Linked DNA regions of Homo sapiens: region 2 is linked to region 1. Evidence: promoter capture Hi-C in 16 types of primary human blood cells and fetal thymus (Javierre and others, 2016). All regions are on one chromosome and are shown on one strand. The core of a region is centred on a gene start or on the middle of the fragment in contact, and the rest is flanking DNA. Distances in the headings are between cores, read along the strand shown.

The links. The method cuts DNA at HindIII sites, captures the fragments that hold promoters and counts their contacts. A CHiCAGO score of 5 or more calls a contact.
Region 2: a contact is called between a fragment that was not itself captured here and the fragment with the promoter of ARMS2 in region 1, in 6 of 17 cell types (non-activated CD4 T cells, activated CD4 T cells, total CD4 T cells and 3 more). The highest score is 7.2, in non-activated CD4 T cells.

What each region holds. Positions count from the first base shown.
Region 1 is chr10:122,451,058-122,456,452 of GRCh38, reverse strand. It overlaps ARMS2 (age-related maculopathy susceptibility 2), which reads right to left and starts at 1,800. Exons shown (of 2, transcript NM_001099667.3): 1 at 1,429-1,800. The coding sequence starts at 1,725. All of the region lies in intron 2 of HTRA1-AS1 (HTRA1 and ARMS2 antisense RNA 1), which reads left to right. The HindIII fragment of the contact is 827 bases long and covers 1,141-1,967 here.
Region 2 is chr10:122,323,083-122,328,477 of GRCh38, reverse strand. All of the region lies in intron 10 of BTBD16 (BTB domain containing 16), which reads right to left. Among named protein-coding and RNA genes, the nearest start is that of PLEKHA1, 49 kb to the left of the region's middle. The HindIII fragment of the contact is 6,579 bases long and covers 1-5,395 here.

The DNA of each region.
Region 1 (5,395 bases), core at 551-3,050:
AAACTCCTGACTGCAAGTGATTTGCCCACCTTGGCCTCCCAAAGTGCTGGTATACAGCCATGAGCCACCATGCCTGGCCTATTTTTGAGAATTTCTGAAGCACTTTAGAATTACAATACCAGCATTTCTTTTTTTCTTTTTTCTTTTTTTTTTTTGTTTTTTGTTTTTTAGATAGGGCATCCTCTCGAGCCAGAGTAGGCTCAGAGACTCCAGCACTAGCATTTCTAATATCAAATCAAAACATTCATGTCTATTAGTTAAATATAGATACTTAAAAGCCAACCCCAGGCCTGCTGCTGCTCAGTTTCCTTTTAAGCCTTTACATTCTATGTATTTGTTAAGATCTATAATTCAGATCTTTTATTAATTTAGGCGAACCCTTCCCCTAAATCAGTTGCATGAGACCAGCAGTCCATCTTTGCATTAATTGGCTCCTTCCAACATATTTGCTTTAGAAAATTAAAAGCATGGCATGTGATCAAATTTTTCACTCTCCATGGTAAAGTATCAGACAGATACAATTCAAACAGAGCCCCAGGCAGCCACCGAAAGGTCTTGAATGACAGCTTGTCAATTTCTGTCACTCGGGAGCAGCTTGAAAAGCTGAGCGCGCTCACATTTAGAACATGCTGCCATTTAGGCAAAATGGTTTAACATTGAATCAAGGACATTATGAGCCAGAATTTTAAATCTGCTTGTAAAAAACAAAAATTAAGAGAGGGAAGGGGTTCAACCTTTGTGTTCTCTCATTTGTCTAATTATATATACTATGGCAAGCACAAAGCGCCACAGTTCCGTAAGCATTAGAAAGCATTTACTAAGCTTATTTGGCAACATGGTCTCTAAGCTGCTTGATGTCTAAATTTTAAACCAACGTGACCTGTAAGGCCCAGATTCTTTCTCTACAAACTTGCATTGTTGTTTTCTTACACATACAGCCAAGGCATTTTTTTTAATCCATAAATGAGCAGGAAAAATGAGCACTGGAAAGCCGTGAGAATATTGAAAGAATGGTACAGCTTTCTAAATGACTCCTCTAACAACCCGGACGAGAAGCAGGCTGAGGTTTCCACCTCCTTCAGTAAACCCTAAAGCCAATTCACCGGCTTGAGGGGCCACTCAGATGGCCTTCTATAAGCTTTGGGTTTCTGCTCACCCCATCACTTTCTCAGACCTACTGCGTCTTCTTGTTTCCTTTTTCTGGCATGTAGCAGGTGCATTGGAAGTATTTACTGATATTCCCAATTCTCCAGCTATTCAACCAGAGGAAGGCTGAATTGCCTAGGCCTCCCTGTGGCCAGTGGTGCTCAAACCTGAGCATGCATCAGAAGCACCTGAAGGCTGGTTAAAATGCAAGCTGCAGGGCACCACTCCAGAATTTCTGATTCAATAGGTCTGGGGTAAGGCCTGATCATCTGCATTTCTTACCAGTGTCAGGTGGTGCTGAGGCTGCTGGAACCTCCTCTGGGTTCCAGCAGGAGAGAAGAAGGCTGGTAAGCAGAGCTCAGTGTGGATTTTAGCAGCTGGGATCATGGAGTGTGATAAAGACAGTTTGCTCCTCTGCTTGTCACTGGCTCCTTCTCCACCAACTCCAGGGTCCAGCACAGACTCTCGCAGAGTGGAAATGAAGGACACAGGAACCACCGAGGAGGACAGACTTGCCATCTCAGGCCCTCCTTTCCCCTCCGCCTCAGTTACCATCGGTCCTGGGTATAGGCGCAGCATGTAGGGTACAGGGACATAATGTGGTGACAAAGGTGCTGTCCCCTTGCCAAGCCAGCTGCCATCTCACTCAGCCAGGAGCATTGTCTTTTCCCGTCACACAAAAATGCCCCCAGGAGTCAGGGCGCCCTGATAACTCCACCCTGAATTGTTGGGTGGTCTCAGGGAGGGTCCACCCCTCAGTCCTGCTCTGCCAGAGGAGGCAACAGAGGTCCCTAGTATCCATTGAAATCATCTGTGAAGCTTTTAAAAAATGCAGAGACCCAGGGATTTGAAAAAAAAAAAAAACCTTGATTGTAGATCATAGTATTGAATCAATGTTGATTTTCCAATTTTGATCATGTTACTGTGGTATGAGAAAATTTTTTTTAAGAAAAACACACTGAAATATTTAGAAATAAAGGACGTGCAACTTAAAGCCTCCAACTTAAATGTTTTAAATGTTTCACATGCTTTAAATGTTTCCAAGAACTTGAATGATGTAGCGAGGGTGGTAAGCATTCGGGAAATCTGAGATAAGGGTCAATGAGAGTTTTGGGGGTTTTGGGATTTTTTGTTGTTTTTTTGTTGTTGTTGTTGTTTTACTATTTTTCAACTTTTCTCTAAACCTAAAATTATTTCAAAATAAAAAACTTTTTTTTTTGAGATGGGGTCTCATTCTGTTGTCCAGGCTGGTGTGCAGTGGTATGACCACAGCTTATTGTGGCCTCAACATCCTCGGGCTAAGGTGATCCTCCTACCTCAGCCACCTGAGTAGCTGGGACTACAGCTACAGACCACGCCCAGCTATTTTTTATGTTTTTTGTAGAGACCAGGTTTTGCCATGTTGCCAGGCTGGTATCGAACTCCGAGCTCAAGCAATCTACCTGCAAAAGTGCTAGGATTACAGGCATAATCCTAGCCCAGGCCCCCCAGCCTTTTTTTTTTTTTCTGAGACAGGGTCTCACTTTGTCACCCAGGCTGGAATCCAGTGGCATGATCATGGCTCACTGCAGCCTCATACTCCTCGGCTCAGGTGATCCTCCCACCTCAGCCTCCCAAGTAGCTGGGACCACAGGTGTGCAGCACCACGCCTGGCTAATTTACTTTTTTTTTTTTTTTTTGGAGATGGGGTCTTACTATGTTGCCCAGGCAGGTCTTGAAGTCCTGGGCTCAAGTGATCCTCCTGCCTCGGCCTCCCAAAGTGTTGGGATTACAGGTGTGAACCACTTCTCCCAGCCAAACACTTTTTTAAAAGGAAAAAAAAAGCCGGGCGCCATGGCTCACGCCTGTCATCCCACCACTTTGGGAAGCCAAGGTGGACAGATCACGAGCTCAGGAGATCGAGACCATCATGGCTAACATGGTGGAATCCTGGCTCTACTAAAAATACAAAAATTAGCTGGGCATGGTGGTGCGTGCCTGTAATCCCAGTTACTCGGGAGGCTGAGGCAGGAGAATAGCCCGAACCAGGGAGTCAGAGGTTGCAGTGAGCCAAGATCACGCCACTGCACTCCAGCTTGGTGACAGAGCAAGACTCTGTCTCAAAAAAATAAAAAATAAAAGGAAAAAAAAAACTATTCCAGACCAACTGAATTAAAAACTCTAAGAGCACAAATAAACACATGAGAAGATGCTTGGCATCTCTAGTCATCAGCAAATCAACAAATCAAAACCACATTGAGATACTACTTCATAGGCACTAAGGTAGCCAGAATCAAAAAGTCAGATGATAACAAGTATCAGCAAGGATGTGGAGAAATCAGAATCCTCATGCACTGCTAGTGGGATTGTAAAATGGTATAGCTGCTTTGGAAAACAGTCTGGCAGTTCTTCAAACAGAGTGAATATATGATCCAGCATTTCCATTCCTAGGTAGCTACCCAAGAGAAAGGAAAACATGTGTCCATACAGAAACTGGAACACACATGTTCATAGCAGCACTATTCATAACAGCCCAAAGGTAGAAACAACCCAAATGTCCATCAACTGATAACAGATAAATTATGGCATATCCATAAAATGAAATACTATTCAGCCATAAAAAAGAATAAAATACCCACTACAACATGGTGAACCCTGAAAGCATGGGGCTAAATGAAAGAAGCCAGATACAAAAGACAACATATTATATGATTTCATTCATAAGAAATGTGTATAACAGGAAAATCTACAGATACAGAAAATAGATTTGTGCTTGCTTAGGGCTAGAAGAGTGGGGAGAGGCTGGGAACAGTGGCTCATGCCTGTAATCACAGCACTTTGGGAGGATGAAGCAGGAGGATTGCTTGAGGCCAGGACTTTGAGACCAGCCTAGGCAACATAGCAAAAACCCATCCCTACAAAAAATAAATAAATAAAAAATAAAATAAAATAAAATAAAATTAGTTTTTTTTTTTTTTTTTAGTTTAGTGTGACTGTGCACACTTGTATTCCCAGCTACTCGGGGGGCTGAGGTGGGAGGATTGCTTGAGCCCAGGACTTTAAGGCTGAAGCCATGATCGTGCCACTGCACCAGACTGGGTGACAGAGTGAGACTCAGTCTCTTAAAATTTTTTAAAATAGTTGGCCAGGTGCGGTGGCTCACACCTGTAATCCCAGCACTTTGGGAGGCCGAGGCGGGCAGATCACTTGAGGTCAGGAGTTCCAGATCAGCCTGGCCAACATGGTGGAACCCTGTCTCTACTAAAAATACAAAAATTAGCAGGGCATGGTGGCGCGTGCCTGTAATTCCAGAGGCTGAGGCAAAAGAATTGCTTAAACCCACGAGGCAGAGGTTGCAGTGAGCCGAGATTGCGCCACTGAACTCCAGCCTGGGTGACAGAGCCAGATTCCATCTCAACAAAAAAAAAGAAAAAAAAAAAATTTAATAGAAAATAAAAAGAATAGCTGAAGAGTATGGGGTTTCTTTTTGAGATAAGGAAAATGTTTTAAAATTGACTGTGTTGGCTGGACTCGGTAGCTCAAGCCTGTAATCCCAGCACTTTGGGAGGCCAAACCAGGCAGATCACTTGAGGTCAGGAGTTCGAGACCAGCCTGGCCAACATGGTGACACCCCATCTCTACCAAAAATACAAAAATTAGCCGGGCGTGGTGGCACACACCTGTAATCCAAGCTACTCGAGAGGCTGAGGCAGGAGAATCACTTGAACCAGGGAGGCAGAGGTTGCAGTGAGCCAAAATCACACCATTGCACTCCAGCCTGGGCGACTCCATCTCAAAGAAAAAAAAAAAATTGACTGTGCTGTTGATGGTTGTCCATATCCATGAATATACTAAAAACCACTGAAATGTATACTTTAAATGGGTAGATTGTATTTTATTTGAATTGTATCGCAATAAAGCTATTTTTAAAAACTCAGGGGGAGGGGGCAGGGACTGAGCATCCCTAGCGTCTCTAATTTGAAGAGCTCCCAGGGACTCCAATGAGCAGCAGGGCTGAGAACCACACACAGGTAATTTCTGTGTACTGACACTATCTGGATCCACGTTTAAGCCACCCAGTTGGTCTAGAGCCAGAGTAATGTCCTTAGAGATGTGAAATTCAGCAGCACCAGGTATTTTATTTGTCTAACTCATAACCCTTATTTAATCAGCCAGTCTGTGTCGGGTGGGCCACCACATTGTCTTCCTCAGTCAGGTTGGGAGTTGCCTGGCACAGGAGCCTGCCTTGCCCACTATGCCCAGACAGCGC
Region 2 (5,395 bases), core at 1,041-3,540, 130 kb after region 1:
CCGCCCAACTGCTCCACGCCAGTGATCCCAGAAGATAGGCCTAGAGGTGCAGAAAAGTTGTAGGCACAAAGACAAGTGAGTTCTGATTCAATTCAAGGGTTATTTACCAGTATCTACCCTGTGCCTGTCTCTGGAGGTGGACAGAGCAGCCATAAATAAGGTCAGGCGGATGCTTTCAGGAGTGCAGAACTATTGGTTCTGGAACCAGCCCTCCATTACCGAGGGTAAGTGGAGCCGGGGCTGGTGGGTGCGGTGCCTGTGCCCTGAAAACACTGACATCTTCGTGGGACAAATAACACTCGCTCACTTCCTTTCCTCAGATGATCTGAGCCTCCTCCTTCTTCTGCCTATTTTTCATCATGTCATGGAGGAACAGCTGAGGCGTCATCATGGCTGGGCAGCAGGTTCCAAGGGGCAAGAAGGGGCCAAGCTGACGCCGTCCTCCCTAGCCTTGCCCAGTGCTCTGGGGACAAGCCAGCACCTATGGCCAGCGCTCCACAGCCGGGTGCTGCCCTAAGCAGTGGGCCCCGGCTGGAGCTGTGGCTGAAATACAGATTCAGTTCCAGAAAGGAAAGGCCCCATCTGGAGGAAAGCATTGCCCTCCACCAGGAAGCTCCAGACGCCGGTTCTGCTGATGTGCCTTGGCATGGCAAGGCTGCTGGCAGGGGCAAGAGGAACCGAGACCCTGATCCTCCCTTTGAGAGGCACTCAGACTCGAAGGCCATTCAGCCAGGGCCTCTCTGGACAGCCATCCTGTCCCAGAGGATTTGGAAACAGCTTTGTTGAGACAGCTTGTTGGACTTTATGACCCCTTGGGGCCTCTGGGAAGTGGCAATGATGCCCACTTTTGTGGATGACATGGAGAGGCCATGAGTCATCTCATCATCCAACCAAGCTGGGACCCCCGAGGCAGGCAGACCAGGGTCCCGTCCCAGCCCAGCCAGCCACAGTCCTGTGACCGGGCCTCTCAGAGCTTCACTCTCCTCTGTCAAGTGGGAGCAGTAGCCACAGGTGGTGCCTTGGGGAGAAGGGAGGAGTAAAGCTGACAGTGTTTGGGAAGGGCTTGGGCCAGCTGCTGGCTCCCAGTGAGTCCTCAACATCTATAAGCACCACCATTGTCCTCCCGCCCCAGGGAAAGTGAATGGACTCAAGCAGCATCAAATGCAGGCAATTGTTCCTGGTGGTATTCATCATCATTGCCACCCTCCAAATCACCCAAGTTATGGGCCACCTCAAAGATAGAAAGTGGTGTCCTCAGCTTCTGATTTCCTGAAATCTCAAAGGATCTAAGGGTTGTGGTCCACCCTCAGAACTGATCAATATAACCCGGCTCTGGGAGCCTAGCAAGGTCCACTGTCTTAGAGCCAGTGTCCTACACAGGCCACTCAGGGCTAGTCCAGCACATTTTCCATTTTACTTGGCGCCACTTAACTGTCTGGGAGCGGAGGCACCTGCTCCTCTCTGGTCCAGTGGTGAGTACATTCACATGGTGTCACGTAAGATGGGAGGGAGCAAGCAGCTGCTAAGTCTGGGGACTACAGTGCTTGGCTACACTGGTGGACTCAAAGACTGGCATGGTTTCCCTGGTACTGCGCTCTGTTTGTGCAAAGACCTCTTTTGGTTTAGCACTTATTTTTTTGAGACACCTTCAGGCGATGGTCTATGCCTCCCAAAGTTCACTGAGAAACCCTGGGGCATGACCCCTCTAGGGAAGACAGTTCACAGTTCCTTGCTACTGAAAGATACATCCAGGTTGGCCCTGGGTCCTACTTGCCAGACCCTGGGGACAAATCTCCCATAGACTCGGAAAGACAGTACCTGGGGACAAGTCTCCCTCTGATGGGTACATATTGTATTTTAGAGGTGCTCTTCGCCACAACTTTCTCACTTCCTCTACCCTGTCATCTGCTGGAGCCTTCCACCCTTCCTGCGAGTATCAGGCCCACAGCTCTGATAGTCCAAGCACTTCAGATTTTAGCCTTAACATACATATATGCTACAGCATGATGAACCTGGAAGCAGTAAGCCAGGCGCAAGGGTGAATGCTGGATGATTCTACTCTATGAGGTACCTAGAGTCATCAAATTCGTAGAGACAGAAAGTAGAACGGTGGCTGCCAGGGGCTGGGGAAGGGGAATGGGAGTTGTTTCATGGGTAGAGTTTCAGTTTGGGAAGATGGAAAAGTTCTGGAGATGGCTGCACAACAATGCGAATAAACTTAACGCCACTGAACTGAACACGTAAGAATGGTTCACATGGGAAAAATTCATGCTATGCATATTTTGCCCCAGTTGAAAAAAGACATTAGGGTTAAAAGTGACTTTGCTTATTTGAGAAACACCTGAACTAACATATTAAATTTTAAGACAACGTTTGAAAAAAATACACATTTTAGGGCAATAACTCACAATGAGAAGAGAAAATGGCTTTTTTTTTTTCTCAAAATATAACTCAGCATAGAAGACTTGGGACACTCCTGAAATCAAAGAACCAGAAAATGGAGGCCAGCCACAGTGGCTCACGCCTGTAATCCCAGCACTTTGGGAGGCCGAGGTGGGTGAATCACCTGAGGTCAGGAGTTGGAGACCAGCCTGGCCAATATGGTAAAACCCCATCTCTACTAAAAATACAAAAATTAGCCAGGCATGGTGGTGGGTGCCTGTAATCCCAGCTACTCGGGTGGCTGAGGCAGGAGCATTGCTTGAACATGGGAGGCAGCAGTTGCAGTGAGCCAAGATCATGCTACTGCACTCCAGCCTGGGCAACACAGCGAGACTCCATCTCAAAAAAAAAAAAATCTATCTATCTATATATACAAAACCAGGAAATGGTCCTCTTGGCTCCTAACACTCAAGTGTGGTAAATGAAACAATAATTCCTGCTGCCACCCCCACATCATAACCTACCAAAGGTCACCACATTTTAGAACCCCTGTCACATGCTGTCCTGGGCCTTTTCTTTGAGTCAGGGCTGACCTACCCATCAGTCCTGGTGAGTGTGTGTTGTTACCTCCATGCACGGTGCTTAGGGTGCTTGCCCAAAGTCTACAGGCAGTGAATGGCAGAGGTGGGGCTGAGACTCGGGGCTGACTTCTTCTAACATACATCTGATTTATTGCTTGTCTCTGCTCCTAGATTGCAAGCTCCATGATGACAGGGTTTGTGTCTGCATTGTTTATTGTTGTACTCTTGGTGTCTTTTATAGTGCCTGGCACTTAACTTGCAATATGTTGGGTGAATTAATTGGATGAATGACCTGGTCCCTGCCAACTTTCCAGCCTCATTTCCATCATCCCATCCCTCCATTCACCCACAACTTATCTTCTAGGCCAGTAGGGCCAGCCCTGGTGCACATGCTCACACACACTTGCTGCACATACAGGCCAGTCTATGCCACTATCTCCATGCCCATGTGGTCCTGTCTGCTGTCACCATGACCTATCAGCTTTTCACTGAGACCAAGTTCAATGTCCTTCTGTCTGTCAAGATGGTCCTGACCCTAGCACAAAGGGAAATCCTGTCTAATCATAACCACAGCTGCCCTTTTTAAGAAACTCCTACACCCAGACTCTTGTGCTCCTTCCACTTCTCCATGCTTATTGTTGAAGGTATGTTTTGGTGCTTCTCAATATGCCTGGGAAGCCAAGAAGCAACATGGCGGAAGTGGAAAGTTAGTAAGAACTAAGCATAATATTTAGGGACCTTGAGAACAAGAGAGACTCAGGTTCCAGAGATCCAAGTTAAAGGGGAGCAGAGTCATCACCTCTCAGAGCAAGAGAAGACACAACAAGGCAAGAAGCATGAACGTCAGATAATGAGAAATCCTCTTGACCCAGAATATACCAACCTCCCTGCACAAGGCTTTGTTGAGCTATTCTAAAAGAGAACAATTTAATGGCCCTAATGTCCATGACTCATGGGATATTTCAAAATTAATGTGCTGGTAAAGAGATCAGTGTTGACACACCAGGGTTGCCCAGTTTCATGCTAACTCTGGCTACATCTGCAAATGCCATTCATGAATCACAAGAGGCACATGGCCTCGCCCACCCTGGGGACACAGCATCATAGCACATTGCCCTCAAGAAATCAGTGGGCTCAGGGCACCCATGGTACAGGGCATGGCAGGGAAGCTCTCCTTAAAAGTTTCCCCCTGCGGTCCCTTGGGAATAGTATGTGGGGGGAATGGGTGGGGGAAGGTGCTGTTGGGTTCACCAGTGCACACCCATGCAGCCAGCACATGCTCTTTTTCTCTCCGCAAAGAGGAGCTAAGAGGAGGAATTCATCCAGTGCACAAGTGAGATCAGAGAAGGCTTTCTGGAACCGGCTTTGTCAAGCTCTGTAAAGGCTGGGTCAGATTTGGGTAGGGCACAGGAAAGAAGAGACTCAGCTGGAGAATCAGGGGAATCTAGAAGTTGGGATCATATGGGAATTGGCTTCATTGGCTACATTCAAATTACTTCCCTCTGGTGAGGTGGAAGCTCATTGCCAGAATCTACCCTTCAGTGTCTGAGAGATACCTATTTAGTGATTATAAATCAGCTAAGGATTAGAATTACATGTCTGTTATGATTTGCCCTTGATCCTAAGAGCTAAGAGTGTCAGAAGACCTAGAAGACCAAGGTCAACCCCAGGACCACCATCAATTTGCAAAAGGAGCCTAAGTAACCTCCTCATTATCCCTGGGCCTTAGCTTATTCAACTGCAAAATGAAAGGGTGAGACCAGATGATCTCTAAGGCACTTTCCAGCATCGACCTTCTTTGATTTAGTAAAGTGAGTAATTTACAAACTGACATGAACTGAATGCATTTTGCTGTCCTGTAGCTCCCAAACTGCCACTCATTTCAATTAGTATAATCACAAGAAGAGTTCTACACTATCCTCCTGCAGAAGGGTTTTTGAAGGTGGGAAGACATTTTCTGCTTCTAATAATACTGACCAATTTCACCTGATTGAGGACTGAATTCTCCACCCTTCTAGCAGTCATTCAGATCCAGCCCTGTCCCACATACCATAAAAGGACACATAAGAAGCAACAAGAAGCTACTTGTCAATCTCCTGCTGAGCCTGAGCATACACAAAGCAACTGGAGAGTCATCCCTAGGCCCTGAGAAGACTGTTCCACTTGAAATGTAGCACACACACCGTAATGCCTAAGGCTGGAGGGAGAAAGTTGCAAATCAAGATCAAATCCATACCCAGCAGGACTGAAACCAGCCCATGCTTTGTGCACTTCAAGCTATCACTCTGTAAACATGACACTTGTTTCCATTTAACACTAAACAACTGGCCAGAAAGTCACTATATTCCTTCTTACACTGTGTACCTGACATGCAATTTAGAGTAATTTTCAGAGTTAAAGTGAAATATTTCAGAGGTTAAAACCACCATTAA